Linked DNA regions of Homo sapiens: region 2 is linked to region 1. The links are contacts of gene promoters, found by promoter capture Hi-C in blood cells and fetal thymus (Javierre and others, 2016). All regions are on one chromosome and are shown on one strand. Each heading gives the region's core, a stretch centred on a gene start or on the middle of the fragment in contact. The rest is flanking DNA. Distances are from core to core; before and after follow the strand shown. Region 1 holds the start of WIF1 (Wnt inhibitory factor 1). Region 2 has its middle 18 kb from the start of LLPH.

Evidence for each region. The method cuts DNA at HindIII sites, captures the fragments that hold promoters and counts their contacts. A CHiCAGO score of 5 or more calls a contact.
Region 2: a fragment that was not itself captured here is called in contact with the fragment with the promoter of WIF1 in region 1 in 1 of 17 cell types (M2 macrophages); the score reaches 5.1 in M2 macrophages.

What each region holds. Positions count from the first base shown.
Region 1 is chr12:65,119,854-65,122,822 of GRCh38, reverse strand. WIF1 (Wnt inhibitory factor 1) reads left to right here and starts at 1,518. Exons shown (of 10, transcript NM_007191.5): 1 at 1,518-1,779; 2 at 2,267-2,406. The coding sequence starts at 1,632. RefSeq lists a silencer at 1,198-1,357. The HindIII fragment of the contact is 2,494 bases long and covers 1-1,932 here.
Region 2 is chr12:66,111,133-66,114,101 of GRCh38, reverse strand. No RefSeq gene overlaps it. Among named protein-coding and RNA genes, the nearest start is that of LLPH, 18 kb to the left of the region's middle. The HindIII fragment of the contact is 1,421 bases long and covers 882-2,302 here.

The sequences.
Region 1 (2,969 bases), core at 269-2,768:
AACCTTTTATGAGTCCGAAGGCTAAGTTTTTTAATTAAAAACAAAACAAAACAAAACCCTTTTGCTTCCGTTTTCTTTGTGCATCCGAGGAATTAGGCAGGAGGCAAAAATCAGTTCTTTCTGCTGGGCCAGGTGGATAGGTTATGCTGCAGCCCACTGCCGGCCAAGCATGCTTCTCACAGACGAGGCCAGAGCCTTGGTTTTGCCCCCACGCACCTGTGAATTCGGCAACTTTTAAAAAATTATTTTATTTATTTATTTATATATTTTTTGAGACGGAGTCTCGCTCTATCGCCCAGGCTGGAGTGCAGTGCCACGATCTTGGCTTAATGCAACCTCCGCCTCCCGGTTCAAGTGATTCTCCTGCCTCAGCCTCCCGGGTAGCTAGGACTACAGGCCCCCGCCACCATGCCCAGCTAATTTTTGCATTTTTAGTAGAGACGGGGTTTCACCACGCTGGCCAAGCTGGTCTCGAACTCCTGACCTCAGGTGATCCGCCCGCCTTGGCCTCCCAAAGTGCAGGGATTACAGGCGTGAGCCATCGCGCCCGGCCGAATTCAGCAACTTTTAAAAAATATCAGCAAACGTGAAGATATCCACGATGTTAGAGGAGCCCTACCCCGGAGGGTCAGGTACAGCTATCGTCCAGGGCCCAGGGCACTCTTCCGGGCACTGCCGGGTTATCAGGGAGACAGACGGGAATCCCCAAATGCTGGGTGTCGGGCAAGTACCAGCTGGACGCCCTGCGCCTCGAGCCAAGGCCAGCGCCTGCCATCGGCACCATCGGACAGTCGAGCCTCGAGTTTTAACTGCTTGGGAGCGCGCAAAGTGCCAGCCTATCGCAGAACGGAGCGCATAGGGTTGGCGGAGAGAGGAATCCTACTGGCTGAAAGGGAGACGAAGGGCAATTTGCGCCTTCAGTGAGCGCCGGAGGAGGAACAGGAGTCATCACCTCATCATCATCATCATCATCATCATCACCATCACCATCACCATCATCAGCACTCAGTCAAGCCCAGCGTTGTCTGCTCTCCCCATTTCCCTCCCCCGAAGCCTCCCTTGGCCCGAGGAGGTGGCGAGTGATGTCCCAGGGGTCTCTGAGTGCCCTTCTCCGGGTCCGCCAGCCCTACACGCCCACTTCGCGGGCGCTCCACTGGGCGCACCGCACTGTGAATGCAGCCTCGGGGGTCCCTCGCGGCCCCGCCCCCGGGGGGGCCCCACAGCGCCCCCAAGTGGCGGCCGCCCAGGCCTCGCGGGCCCCACTCCTCGCTCGCACCTCGCTCGCGCCAGCCCTTCCCGCTCTTCTGTTCTCGCTCTATTTGCCCCGCTGACTGCTGGCCTCGCCAGCTTTGCCAGTCTTACGTCTCTGCCGCCCCCACTCCCGCCCGCGCCCCATCTTCTTGCGCGACTCGCGCCCGCTGGTCCCCCCCTCCTCCTCCCGCGTCCTGCCTGCCCCCTCCTCCTGCTCTCGCAGGCTCCTTGGCACCCAGGCCGGGAGGCGACGCGCCCAGCCGTCTAAACGGGAACAGCCCTGGCTGAGGGAGCTGCAGCGCAGCAGAGTATCTGACGGCGCCAGGTTGCGTAGGTGCGGCACGAGGAGTTTTCCCGGCAGCGAGGAGGTCCTGAGCAGCATGGCCCGGAGGAGCGCCTTCCCTGCCGCCGCGCTCTGGCTCTGGAGCATCCTCCTGTGCCTGCTGGCACTGCGGGCGGAGGCCGGGCCGCCGCAGGAGGAGAGCCTGTACCTATGGATCGATGCTCACCAGGCAAGAGTACTCATAGGTAAGGCCCCCGCCTCCAGCGCCTTCCCCTGCCTATGTCCTCCTCTCTCCACTCTTCAAGAAAGAGGGATACCTGCGTTTCTTGTGTTTTAAAACTTAATTTCCACAAAAGAGTGTTCCCCTCTTTTAATTAGATATTTTCCATCTGAAAGCTTATAAACTTCTCTTTTAAGAAACCAAAGCTGATCTAGTGTTCTGATCATGCTGTTGTTAATTTTTATAGCCCTGCGTTTTTAGGTGCACCCGGCATTTTTTTGCGTCGGTTAACTCCATGTCCATCCCTTTTCCCTGAAAGCATGGGTCTGTTGGCATCATTCTCATCATCCACAGAGAAAAATTAATCTTAGTAGCGTTGATGGTACTGAAGGCAGATGCTTGTGAACAGAAATGACCCACACTAATTCTTTGGTTTTCTTTTTGCTTGAAACTTCTGATTTAGATGATTTCAAGTCTACCTGGTTTGATCGTTTTATTATTTTAAAAACCAGGATTTGAAGAAGATATCCTGATTGTTTCAGAGGGGAAAATGGCACCTTTTACACATGATTTCAGAAAAGCACAACAGAGAATGCCAGCTATTCCTGTCAATATCCATTCCATGAATTTTACCTGGCAAGCTGCAGGGCAGGTAAGTTCTGAGAAAATTACCCTTTAATATTTCCACTGCCTTATGGCAGGTGGAAATAGTACTGTATAGTGTGTAGCCTGGTACATTTTACAGTTATTAAGAGAAATTTCTCATCTGATTGCCAAAGCAAATAAAGAATTAATTTCCATTTATTTCAAGTTGCCATATCAATTAATGATCTTCAAAAGAAAAGAACAAGCCTTGTGCCTAAGCCCATTATTTTGATAAGACTCAGTGTCCTGAGGCTGCTGGAAATATAAAGACCTCCAATACCAACATCACTGTGTTTCTGTGATCATTGACATTAAAATTTAACATACTTAAAGGACTCTTTTTGCATAGTAGTTTCTAATCACTTGTGACATTCTTCATACTTTACAACAAATTTTAAAGTTTGTAAGTATTTTTGACATTGTGCACTTTTAAAAAGTCAGTATGTTGAATGTTATTCACTGGAACGTGAATGTTGCATATTTCTGGTAGAAGTTAGACCCAAAAGGTGTCATGTAAGAACGTTATAAAATATTGCAGCCTATGTTTTCAAGTTACCATTTTAAATGCTT
Region 2 (2,969 bases), core at 343-2,842, 990 kb before region 1:
TGTCCCCAGTTTGCTAGTGTTGGGATGTGGGGCATTGAAAAGGTGACTAGGTCATTAAGTGGGATTAATGCTGTTCTCGAGGGGCTGAGTTAATTCTCGAGTGAGTGAGTTTTCCCTCTCCTGAGACTGGATTAATTACTGCAAAAGCAGGTTGTTATAAAGCTAGCCCACCTCTTTGTACACAGGCTCACTTGCCCGTCCTCTTTTCTGCCATGCTATGGAGCAGCAAGAGGCCCTCACCAGATGCGCTAACCTGATCTTGGACTTTCCAGCCTCCAGAACTCTGAGCTAAGTAAATCACTTTTCTTTATAAATTATCCAGTCTCAGGTATTCTGTTATAGCAACAGAAAATAGACTAAGATAGTATGCAAATGGGCTGGCCCTTTGTTTTTGTAAAAAAGTTTTATTGGCACAAAGCCATGTCCACATGTCCATGAATTGTCTGTGAATAATTTGTGCTACAAAGGCAGAACTGAATAGTTGTGACAGAGATTCTTGTATAATCAGCAAAGCCTAAATTAAAATTTGGCCTTTTAAGAAAAAGTTTGCAGACTGCTGCTTTAAAATATTTTCTATAGCAAGAAGTACCACTACTGAAAAGAAAAATGAAAAGTAAAAAAATAAAATATTTTCTGTTTGTTAAATGAAGGCTTTTGTTCTTTATTTGAAAATTCAGGTGAGTTGGATCTGGTTTTATGTTTCCATCCTGTTGCATTTTATATTTGGAGAATCCCTCCAAGTTTCTTATTGGAAGGCAGTTGTATTAAAAAAAAAAAAAATAGACAAGCTTACCCTCACTCTGTATCAATGCAAGGCAGGTGGTACCAAAAGGTTGTTTGTATGTTTAGGTGTGTTCCCCATCTGCCACCTCAACTAAGCTTCTTTTAGTCTTTGGACTTAAAAAAAAAAAAAGATTGTCCCATTGTAGAGCTTTTTTCACAAATCTCATAACTCACTTTTCCCTTAAGTCTACAAACAATTTTTGAAAATGTTAAATGCTGGAGAAAGAACTCTGTTTTAATTTAATATGGCACCTAGAATACTGGCACATGTAAAGACATTCCAATTTAGTTTGATTTGGTGGGTGGTCTAGCTGAAAATACACTTACAGGTTGGTTTCATTAATAGGAAATTAATATGGACTAAAATAGTCATAGCATTTAAGGCTGGAAAACGTTTTAGAGATCATCTATTTTAACTTGTGCTTCTTAACAGATGAGGAAACTGAGGCCAATTTCCCCAAGAGGTTAGTAGTTCATGGCAGAGACCAGGAGCCCAAGAGTCTTTGTATTCACAGACCAATCTTTTTCAAAACCATAAATAGGTGACAATTAACCACACAAATAATAACATTTGGACTAATGTCAAAATTAATTGTATTCTTTTCTATAAAAGAGGGGTTGTTAAATAAAGCTATGGTGTGTGACTAGTGATCTTTTCTGTAGGTCTGTTTCTGCCGTAGTTAATAACCAATCCTTTCCCATTGGTGGCTGTGCCTCTTTGTTCCACAGGTAGTATAACATCTTTTACTTGAAACAAAACAAAACAGCAGTAACAAACTTCCCCCCTCCCCCATGCCCTCCATCAAAGGCCAGATTTTTTTTGTTTTTGTCTCTACTCTTTCCCTTCTAATTCATCTTGTGTGGTTGTCAACTTCTTTTTCTTTCCATAACTTTTGTTGTTTTTTCTCATAAAAGTAACACATGTATGTTGGAGAAAATTTTAAAACCCAAGAAAGTATAAATGAAATAAATAATTCATAATCCAACCACCCAGAGAATGTGTAGCTCTGTGTATATTTTCATAATTGTCTTAATACTGTATAATTTTATATTCTGCTTTCTTAACTTTATATCATGGGGATTTTTTTCCCATGCTGCTGGAAATTTTTTAAGAGTGTTGTTTGAAAAGTTCCCTCATTCTGTCTTGTGATAAACTATATATTTTTTTATTTGTCTACTTTTGGACATTTAATTTTTTTCTGAAAAAACTTTTTATTTTTGCTATTAAAATACTTCTCTGTAATATTAATGACCTTACATGTAAGTCTAATCCTTATCTGATTATATTCTTGAGGAAGGGTTCTAGAAGAGTATGAACTTTTCTTTAAGACTCCTTATCTGTATTGCCAAACTGCTCTCCTGAAAGGCTGAAACAATTAGTAATCCTTCCAGGAGTGAGTGAGTGCTTGTCTGGGGTACCCTTGAAGGGTTGTAAAATTTAAGCCTTTTAAAACATTCCTTTCAGTAAGTCATTCTCCTGCTAGGAAACTTCCCATGGCTGCAAGACCAAATTGAAGCTTCTTAGCATACTCTCTTCCATTTCTTCACTTCCAGTTGATTTCACAACCACTGCAATCTGGCAGGTCTAACATTATATTGATGTCTAATACCAGGAGTGACAAATTGGTACCCTTGCCCTGGAGAGACTTTGTACAGTGTTCTGCTTTGTTTTTTTGATGAGATTGTTGCCTTTAGATGGGTCAGACACTTCTAAAGTGATCTCTAGCTAGACAGTCCCTTTTGTTTGACACACACTGACCGGCCCTGGGAGGAAACTGCCTTAGGTAAACCCATGCCACTTACGCTCTGTAATCTCTTTTCCTCACACACTCCATGGCTGTCACTGCCAGGGCATCTTGGCTTCTACTGCTTTTTCCTGAGAGAAAACAGTAGATATTTTATTGTGGTAAAATATACAAACATAAACATTTATCTTTTTAACGATTTCTAAGTGTGCAATTCAGTGGCATTAAGTACCTTCACAGCGTGGTGCAATCATCACCACTGTCACTACTGTTTCCAGAATTTTTTATCATTTCAAACAGAAACTCTGCACCCATTAAACAATTACCCCCCATTCTCCCCTCCCTCCACCCCTAGTCTCCACTATTCTGCTTGCTCTCTCTGAATTTGACTACTCTAGATACCTCATATAAAGGGAATCATGGAATATTTGTCCTTGTGTG